2 separate regions of the Homo sapiens genome follow, and region 1 is linked to region 2. Evidence: promoter capture Hi-C in 16 types of primary human blood cells and fetal thymus (Javierre and others, 2016). All regions are on one chromosome and are shown on one strand. Each heading gives the region's core, a stretch centred on a gene start or on the middle of the fragment in contact. The rest is flanking DNA. Distances are from core to core; before and after follow the strand shown. Region 1 has its middle 96 kb from the start of GORAB. Region 2 holds the start of MROH9 (maestro heat like repeat family member 9).

Region 1 (5,548 bases), core at 2,885-5,384, 500 kb before region 2:
GTAGTCCCAGCTACTCAGGAGGGTGAGGCAGGAGAATCACTTGAACCTGGGATGCAGAGGTTGCCGTGAGCCAAGATCACGCCACTGCACTCCAACCGAGACAGACTCTGTCTAAAAAAAAACAAAAAAACAAAAAACAAGTCAAAAAATAACACATGCTGGTAAGCTTTTGGAGAAAAGGGCATATTTATACACTGTTGGTAGGAGTGTAAATTAATTCAACCATTGTGGAAGGCACTGTCGCAATTTCTCAAAGAGCTAAAAACAGAACTACCATTCAATCCAGCAATCCCATTACTGGGCATATACCTAAAGGAATATAAATCATTCTGCTCTAAAGACACATGCATGTCTATGTTCATTGCGGCACTATTCACAATAGCAAAGACATGGAGTTAACCTGAAGGTCCATCAATGGTGGACTGGACAAAGAAAATGTAGTGCATATACACCATGAAATACTACATAGCCATAAAAAATGAATGAGATCATGTCTTTTGCAGCAACATGGATAGAGCTGGAGAGCATTCGTCTAACCAAACTTACACAGGAACAGAAAACCAAATACCACGTATTCACATTTGTAAGTGGGAGTTAAACATTGAGTGTATATGGTCACAAAGAAGGGAACAACAGACACCAGAATCTACTTGAGGATGGAGGGTGAGAGGAGGGTGAGGATTGAAAAAGTACCTATCAGGTATTATGCTTCTTTCCTGCATGACAGAATAATCTGTACATCACACCCTCGTGACATGAGTTTACCTATATAACAAACCTGCACAGGTACCCCTGAACCTAAAATATAAGTTTAAAAAAAATAAAGAACACAGATTCTTTTTGAAAGTGTTGCCCAAGAATCACTATCAATAATAATAATCCAGGTGATTCTGATGCTCAGGCAAGTTTGAGAATCCTCCATCTAGAAGACTTGCTATACTAAGGAAGAATATCTCCTGAGATTCACAGGAATAATTCTCTTGCCTTCAGGTGAGATTATAATCCATTTTTTTCTGGGTTGGTTTAGATATTAAGGACACAGAATCTACTATGTCTTTTAAATATAGAAAATTCTTCCTTATAGCTATTTTGAATCCTGTATGTCACAGTTTAAGATTTTTCTTCTGTTTCATCCTGAAGGAAGGTGAAAAACAGTTTGGATGTTTCACATCAAAATATAAAGTCTATATGCTCTTAAATCTCCTTTGATTATTTTTCTAGGTTAGAAAGTCCCATCCTCTTTCATCTTTCCTCATGTCTCATTTTGCAACTTTTTACATCATCCTTATAGGTCCAAACCCTCTTTCATGTACTTACAAAATTGAACCCATTTTTCAAAGCCTAAAAAAAGTCTGAACAATACTTTAAAAAACTTTTCTAGTAAAATTTCAGGGTTAAGAGTCATGAATAGAAATTGTCATATGTCTTGAAACTGAACAATTCCATTTCATTTATACAGGATCATCAAGAGGTAACTAAGGCCCTTGGAACCAGATCCCTGCTCTGTGAAATACTTGTGATAGAACACAGCAGTAGTTCTCAAACTTTAGCATGCATCAGAATTGCCTGGGAGGACTTATTATATATGGATTGCTGGGACTGACCAACCTTCAGAGTTCCTAATTCAGCATACCTGGCTGGAGCCTAGACATTTATATTTCTAATCTGTTTCGAGGTGATTCTGCTGCTGCTGGTGGTCCAGAGACCACACGTGAGAACCACTGGACTAGGGAGATCTTGTACATCATAGACACATTGGTTTCTCTGGACACAGAATGGATCTCAGAAGTCAAGTGTAATTTTGCAGATTTGGACACTATGGTTTAAGGAAGCCAAGTGACATTGCTTGAGGCCATGAAGCAGAACTAAAAGCTCTCTGCTCCCATCTCAGAGCTTGCTGATTCTACATTACTCTGTTCAGCCAGTCTCTGTGCTCATGACTCCCATGGTCCCAACAACGTTTGAGGTCTATGAATGTTTCCAAAAGTTAAAGATAGGTCTTTAACTTCTCAAAAAATGATTTTAACCATTCTGCATAAAAATCTTTCTAAAATGTATTATATTCTTCTGGACCTCACATAGAGTATGTAGGACATACTTGAACCCAATTTTTTTCAATGAGTGCTCACTTCTATGGTGGGAAGAGTAGGTTTGGTAGGGAAAGGGCAGATACCAAGAGTTCATTCTAGACATATTAAGTTTGAGATGTATATTAGGTGTCCAAGTTAAAATACAAGCAGGGGCTAGAGAATATTGATCTGGAGCTCAGGGGAAAAGTCTAGACTAGAGATATTAATTTATAAGTCATTAGGATGTAAATATAATTTAAAGACCTTTGTTGTACTACATTATCTAAAGTCTGAGAAGAGGTAGAGAGGAGAAGAAATACAAGGACCAAGCCCTTAGGGCACTCCAATATTTAAAGATTGGAAAAATGAGGAAAAATCCACAAAGACCAAGAAGGTAAAGCCAGAGAAACCAATATAACCAAACCAATATGAGAGCAGGTTGGATTTATAGTACAGTGGCAGATAGTGTATAAATATATAATTGCCAGACTTTGGGGCTTCAATTCAGATTACATCTGTTTTCTCAGTGAAATAGGAAACAAGTCAATGAACAAGAATATAAATATGAAATGAGACCAGTCAATATGGCTATGTGTTTTTCTCCAGCCATATTCAGTTGTATGGGGGGCAGGCAGGGACGAGACAGTTATGTTCAACTTTCTAAGTTAAATCTGGGAAAATATAGGAAAGTAGTTGATAGACAAGGGTATTGAGGATGTTTGCCAGGGAATTATTAAAATTTAATGATGTAACTAAAGCTGGTTTAAGAGGGAAGTAAAGACAGAAAAGGTTAGGGGGAATGAAAAAGCGGTAGAATCAATGAGTATCAGATTACTATGTTTTAAGCCAGAAATGTCACTGGAGAATACCGAGTTAATAGAGTTGTTTCTAATTTTTTGGCAGTAGGTGAGGTATTACCTATAAAAACTCTGAAAATGCTATCCTTGCTTCTATTGGTTTTCAGCAGCATTTTTTCTCACTCACTGTTAAGCTTTCAGGTTTCTCTATTCTGCCACTGCTCTCCCTTTGTCTGCCCCTCTTCTCTCCACCTACCTCCTTCCCCAACCCTCAACACATACCTAGTCTTACTTTCTGCTTCCAGTGGGCCATTGAATGAGAAAATGAATTATTAGAATTGTGTGTAAGAGTAAATAGGATTCTGAGAAGTCGGAATCAGATTCACAAAGTGTTTGACAAACATTCAAATTTCTCATCAGAAGTCACTCGGAGCTGAGATGCTTCCTATCTTTTATGCAGCAATATTCCGAATAGTTACTTTACTAAATGAGTCATTTCTCTGAAATCAAATCTGTAGTTGGATCCAGGTTTTCTATTTGCTGAATGAAAAACCTTGGGTAAGCCACCTAACTACCCTCTGAGCCTCAGTTTTCTCATTTGCAAAATGAAGTTTCCTAAAACTACTTCTTCCTCTAGACCATAAGCCTACTAAAGGTTAGGGCCATGTTTTATATATTTTTGCATATCTATTGCCTAATGTAGTATTTGGATTATAAAAGATGTTCAATACTGTAAAAAAGTCAGTAAATGAATGAGAATCTCAGAAAAAATGTAAGCATTTTAATAAGTAGCAAAACTACATGCAAATGAAGTAAACAGTAAACAATGTCAAGCAACAAATGGTACTCCGAGCTCTATTTTTAGAGAGGGAATACAATTGATTCTGTGAGGCATTTGCTATAAGGTAAAAGAATGAGGTCATGTGGGAAAAGGCTAGAGTGCTACCTGAAGGTACATATTGAGCCAGCACACTCCTGAGTATATTTCCCATTTCTCCAAATACCGTGTGTGGTAAGCTGAACCATGGCCCCCCAAGATGCCTTCATCCTAATCTCTGGTGCCTGTGAATATTATCTTATATGGCAAAAGAGACTTTGCAGGTGTGATTAAATTAAATATCTTGAGATAAAGATGTTATGCTGGATTATCCAAGTGGGCCCAGTGTAATCATAGGGATTCTTTTAAGAGGGAGGCAGGAGATGAGGGAGACCGAAGGTGATATGATAACAGATGAAGAAAGATAGGGAGAAAGGGATTTGAAGATACTATGCAGCTGGCTTTGAAGACACAGGAACATGGCCATGAACCCAAGGATGTAAATGGCCTCTAGAAGGTGGAAGAGACCAAGAAATGAATTCTCCCCTAGAGTCTCCAGAAAGAACCAATCCTGCTGGCACCTTGACTTTAACCCAATTAAAATTTATTTCAAACTTCTGGCTTCCAGAACGATCATAAATCTTCATTGTGTTTGTGGTAATTTGTTACAATGGCAATAGGAAACTAACGTGCATGTTTTCACATAGAATTTAAAAGAGAAATCATGAAAATTTCATTAAAAATAAAGATAAATATATGTGACTCTCTTGCCAGCGTACTACAAATGCCAGTTGGTTTTAGCAAATGCAGTTATTTGACTGAGGATAATTTTGAGAGAGAAGACACTTTGGAAGTGGAATAAAAATTATTCTTCATATTTTAGGGTAGAGGAAACATAATTAGGTAATGGATAAAACTCGCCAGGGCACACTCAAATAGAAAGTTTCTTGCCTTTTTTCACTACCTCCTCATGGGATCAGGTGATTCTCTCCTACAGTGCACTTTGGGACAACAACCCTTTTCCTTTATCCTTCACACATTCTCTTATTCTCTAACAGGCCATCTCAAAACTGTTTAGGTGGCAAGGACATTAATGACCATTTTGTTATACAAATTATACCTTTGTAAGTAGACAGCATTTCACAACTTAGCATACTAATCAGGTTCTCCCAGCCCCCTCTAATTCAGTTCCACTCTGCTGGACTATGCCATTTTTAATCCTACCCCTCTGTACTGAACACTAGACAAATCCTTGAGTTGGTGGAAGATGAATGAAAGAAAACATGATGAACCAACCGAAGCAGAAAAAGTGATCAAAGAGCACCCCAGGCCTAAAAAATCAAGGTCCTCTCTATAGACCCAATTTAAAGTACGTGATTCAAAATTGTTGTTGCTCAAAATGACCGAGCTAGTCTCAAGAGCTTTGCTAATGACTTTGCCATCTGGGAAGGCAGAGAACTTAAAAGATAATTATTTTAGGGGTGAGGGACTAGCACAAGATTACAAGAATATCAAATGTAAATGAAAAGCTTTGGCCATAGCAAACACTGACAAACTGTCCACAGGAATAGCTTACCTAAAATCCAATTAAAACAGTAAGGCCCCTTATTTAATTGCCCTTAAATAGGAAGTCCAACCCCTAAAATGTATGCCTAAGGGCGACAGAACTCTTCACTGAAACTTCTCCTGTAAGGAACCGCAAATCACTCTACGGATCCCAGAGCAAGGACATCATCTAGTGTATGAGCTTCCCTCTAGAACTCACTTATACTGGGAAATGGATTGGGATGGTGAAGTAGCTTTGAAAACCCCTGCTTACTGTGGTAAACACTTAAGCTGGTTAGGATACAGTCAGGACTACTTAC
Region 2 (5,281 bases), core at 2,204-4,703:
TGTTATCTGAAATCTAGGCATTGGCTCCCAAGCCTTAACCCTTGTCCCCTGTGCACCTGCATGCTTAACACCATGTGGAAGCCAGCAAGGCTTATGGCTTGCATATTTTGAAACAGTGGCCTGAGATGTACCTGGGGCTGTTTTAGCCACAGTGGGAGCTGTAACAGCTGGGACACAAGAAGCAGTGTCCCAAGGGCAGTGGGGCCCCAAGCCTGGCCCTTAAGACCGTTCTTCTTTCCTAGGACTCCAGCCTGTAATGGGAGGGACTGCCCTGAAGTTCTCTCAAGTACCTTTATGGCATTTCCCTCATTGTCTTGGCTATTAACATTTGGTTTCTCTTTACTTATGCAAATTTCTGCAGCTGGCTTGAACTCCTCCCCAGAAAATTGGTTTTTCTTTTGCACCACATGGTCAGGCTGCAAATTTTTATGCTCCGCTTCCCTTTTTAAGTTCCAGTTTCGGACCATCTCTTTGCTTAGGCATGTGGGCATATATTGTTAGAAGCAGCCAGGTCACATCTTAAATGTTTTGCTGCTTAGAAATTTCTTGCACCAAATTCCCTAAATCATCACTCTCAAGTTCAAACTTCCCAATAAGTTCCTCATGTCCATCTGAGACCTCATCAGCCTGGCCATCTCTGCCCCACTGTCAGCAATTTGGTCAAAACCATTCAAGTCTCTAGGATGTTCCAAACTTTCTCTCATCTTTCTGTTTTCTTCTGAGCCAACCAAACTGTTCCAATCTCTGCCCATTACCCTGTTCCAAAGCTGCTTCCACATTTTCAGGTATCTTTATAGCAATGCACCACTCCTAGGTACTAATTTTCTGTAGTAGTCTGTTCTCACACTGCTTTAAATAAATATCTGAGACTGGGTAATTTATAAAGAAACAAGGTTTAACTGGCTCACTGTTCCACATGTTGTACAGAAAGCATGGCTGGGGAGGCCTCAGGAAACTTTCAATCATGGCTGAAGGGGAAGCAGGTTCATCTTACATGGCCAAAGCAGGAGGAAGACAGAGAAGAAGGGGGCTAGAAGGAAGTCAGATGACAACAAAGAACCATAAAAAAAATTACTGGGCCAGGTGCAGTGGCTCACACCTGTAATCCCAGCAATTTGGGAGGCCAAGGCGGGTGGATTACGAGGTCAGGAGATCGAGACCATCCTGGCTAACACGGTGAAACCCCGTCTCTACTGAAAATACAAAAAAATTAGCCACTGTGGTGGCACGCACCTGTAGTCCCAGCTACTCAGGAGGCTGAGGCAGGAGAATTGTGTGAACCTGGGAGGTGGAGCTTGCAATGAGCCGAGATTGCGCCACTGCACTCCAGCCTGGATGACAGAGCAAGACTCCGTCTCAAAAAAGAAAAAGAAAATTACCAACTGAGAATTCTATATTTGACCAAACTATCCTTCAAAAAAAAAGAAAGAAAGAAAGAAAGAAAGAAAGAAAGAAAGAAAAGAGAAAGAAAGGAAGGAAGGGAAAGAAAGAAAGGAAAAATTAAGTATTCACAAATAAAGTAAGATTGTTTTTCTAGCAGATCTGCCCTACCAGAAATACTGAAGATATTGTCTCACGCTGAAATAAAAGAATACTAGCTAGTCACTCAAGTCTACACAGAGAGCACACTCATAAACTACAGAGGTAGAATAAAATTATTTGGTTTTGTTCTCCTATTATGTTTAAAAGAAAACAGCTTAAAGCAATAATTATAAAACTGGGTTGGTGGGATTATAATGTTTAAATATATGTATGTATAACATGAATATATATAATGTGCATGGCAATAATAGCAGAAAAAATGAAGGAGGAAACCAGGTATACTGGAGCAAAACCTTTGTATGTTATTGAAACTAAATTGATATTAATTCAAACTACATTGTTTTAGGCTAATGTTATAATTGTGACCCTAGAACAAACAAAGTTTGAAAATTCACACTTCTTGATTTCAAAACTTACTACAAAGACACAGAAATCACCACAGTGTGCTACCAGTATAGGAAAAACATATAGATTAATGGGATAAAATTGAGTTCAGAAATAAACCATTTTAGTCAATTCATTTTTTACAAAGATGTGGAGACAATCAGGAAAAGAATCATCTTTTTAACAAATTGTACTGAGACAAGTGAATATCCAGATGCAAAAAATAAGATAAAATTAGACCTCTACCTCACACTATATACTAAAACTAATTCAGAATGAACCAAAGACCTAAATGTAAGGCAAAAACTACAAAACTCTTAGAAAAGTTCTAAATCTAATCTCTGTGAAGTTGGGCCAGGGAATGCAGGCAATGTCTTTTTCTTTTTTTTTAGTTATGATACCAAAAACACAAGCAATAAAAGAAAAAGAATGGCAAATTTAAATTTCACTTAAATTTAAAACTTTTGTGCTTCAAGAGACACTGTCAAGAAAATGTAAAGGCAGCCCATAGAAAAGGAGGAATATTTGCAAATTATGTATCTGATAAGAGACTAGCATCTAGAACATATTAAAAAATCACAACTCAGTAATAAAAATCCAAACAGTCTAATCATAAAAAGTCACATATTGTATAAATCTATTTACATAAAATGTCCAGAAGGCAGACAGAAGATTAGTGGTTGCCAGGTACTTGGGGGAGAGGGAGGGTGAATGTCTGCTAACAGGTACAGGGTTTCTTTGGAGCTTGTTCTAAATGAAAATGTTCTAAAATTAGATAGTAATGATGGTTGTATACCTCTGTAAATATATTTAAAATGATTGAATTATATACTTTAAGATAAATTTTATGGTATGTGAATTATATTTTAATAACTCTATTATAAAAAGTGCTACAATAAACATCCTTCATGTCTCTCAGTGCATCAGTTGTATACATGTTTATACACTCTATGGACCTAGAACTGGAAATTCTGGGTTGTAGATTTTCAGTTTTGCTAGAACTTGACAAGTTTCTCTACAAACTAGTTATATCCATTTATAATCCCACCAGTCGTGTGAGAAAGTTCAACTTTCTTTTATCTTTGCCAATATTTGAAATTATCTTTTTTTAATTTTTACTTGTATTTTAGTACTTTTTAACTTATTAGCTGGGAAATAATATTTTAATGGTTTGTATTTTCATAACTTCAAGTGAGATTAAAAATCTTTTAAAATATTTATTGGCCATTCAGTTTTCCTTTTCTGTGAATTTTCTATTCTTATCCTTTGCCCAGCTTCTACTGGACTGTTGGTCTGAAGAACTATCTTTCAGTGCTTGTAACATAGAAACCAGAAACTTACCCACCCCTCAATAATGACAGGTGAGCATTAGTAGCCACTTGGGCATGCCAGGACATTCTACCACATTCATTCCAGAATGGAATCTTTGAAACATATGGTTGCCATGACGAGTGTCAACATTTCAAAGAATTTGCTTGGTTGATAACTACCTAGAGTATTTTACCTTTGGCTAAGAGGTAATATACTAGAGTTTCTCTTCACTACTTTGTCTCACCGTGATTACAGAGAAGTTACAAATATGTAAGTGAATTCCTATTAATATTTCTGTCATTCAAAAGCTTGTCTTTTTTTCTAATCCTGACTACTTTTCTTAATTTTTGTTCTGTTAAGAAAAAGAACCATGAATACATTAGAAAATTACGTTATGGCCCAGGTATGGTGGCTCACACCTGTAATCCCAGCACTTTGGGAGGCTGTGGGCGGATCATGAGGTCAGGAGGTCGAGACCACCCTAGGCAACTTGGTGAAACCCCATCTCTACTAAAAATACAAAAATTAGCTGGGTGTGGTGGCGGGTGCCTGTAATCCCAGCTACTCAGGAGGCTGAGGCAGGAGAATCACTTGAACTCGGGAGGTGGAGGTTGCAGTGAGCCGAGATCATGCTACTGCACTCCAGCCTGGCAACAGAGTGAGACAAAAAAAAAAAAAAAAAAAAAAAAAAGAAAAGAAAAAGAAAATTACATTACTATGGGCCCTCATCCAGAAATCTTGCCAAAGTTGGCAATTGGAAGAATTTGTCTTTATTCATTAATCTCCTAACTTCATGCCTTACTAGTAAGGATTATCTTATTAGTAAGGATGAGAGAAACCACAACTATATAGATAAATATATTTATTATAAGGTATTGGTTTACACAATAATAGAAGCTAGGAAGTCCTGGATTCTGCTTTCTGCAAGACAGAGACCCAGGAGATCCAATGGTGCAGTTTGAAGGCCTGAGAGCAAGAGAGTTGATGATAAAAATTCCAGCCTGGTTCTGAGGATCTGAGAACCAGAGCACCGAGGGCAGCAGATTTGTGTCCCAAGTCAAGTAGTCAGGCAAAGAGAAAACTAAGCATTCTTCTGCCTTCTTGTTTTATTCAGGCCCTCAATGGATTGGAAGATGTTGACCCACATTAGGGAGTGTCATCTCCTATCATCAGAACACCAATTTAAATGCTAATCTCTTCTGGAAATACCCTCACAGACATACCCCAAAATAATGTTTACCAGATATCTGGGCATCCTATGGCTCACTCAGTTTGACACGTAATATTAACTAACCATAATGAGTTCCCACGTTGAAAATTTGGCACCCATATACATATCCTTAAGCCATAGTTAATCTCCAAATAAAGTCAATAAGAAGCTCATAATTCCATTTAACATGTTGAAATGTAGTGGGATTGATAAGGAATCAGAGAGACCGATGGGGTTGAGAAGGATATTTATTATTTAGGTGCACCGGCCCAGTTGGATTAACCTCCAAAGGACTGAGCCCTGAACAAAGAGTTATCTTTTAATCATTTCGTGGGGTGGGGGAGATCTGTGTAGGGGGAAGCATATTACAGAAGTGAGAAACAAAGACAGTTATTCAATTAATTGAAACATGCATTACATCATTTCTTACTTTTCAAGGAAAAACATGTTTTATGACTTGAGTTTATCTGTCTAGTGACCTTGCAGCTGCACAGCTAGAGAAACAGGGTCTTCACAATGCCTGGGAAAGGAGGAGAGATAAGGCTCACTAGCCACAGAAAAACAGGCAGTTAATTTTAAAGGACTCCAGCTCTTTCTCTTTCTCTGGGGAATTGGGTTTTCTTACATACAACTGAGTTTCTGCTTACACATTCTTTAATTTCTTTTAATTCCTGTTCCAACATATGTCCTGCATACAACTGAAAATGCACTAAACCCTTCTCAGAGGAGGAGATAAAGTCCTTCAGTGATGTTTACTCTCTTCCTTGATGTCCTGTAACTTAAACACTATGATGTAACATTAACAATACTTAAATACTAGAATATGAAGTCATT

Evidence for each region. The method cuts DNA at HindIII sites, captures the fragments that hold promoters and counts their contacts. A CHiCAGO score of 5 or more calls a contact.
Region 1: a contact is called between a fragment that was not itself captured here and the fragment with the promoter of MROH9 in region 2, in 3 of 17 cell types (megakaryocytes, M0 macrophages and M2 macrophages). The highest score is 8.8, in megakaryocytes.

The regions. Positions count from the first base shown.
Region 1 is chr1:170,432,909-170,438,456 of GRCh38, forward strand. No RefSeq gene overlaps it. Among named protein-coding and RNA genes, the nearest start is that of GORAB, 96 kb to the right of the region's middle. The HindIII fragment of the contact is 2,152 bases long and covers 3,059-5,210 here.
Region 2 is chr1:170,932,081-170,937,361 of GRCh38, forward strand. MROH9 (maestro heat like repeat family member 9) reads left to right here and starts at 3,454. Exons shown (of 22, transcript NM_001163629.2): 1 at 3,454-3,507. RefSeq lists an enhancer at 202-391. The HindIII fragment of the contact is 7,245 bases long and covers 1-3,543 here.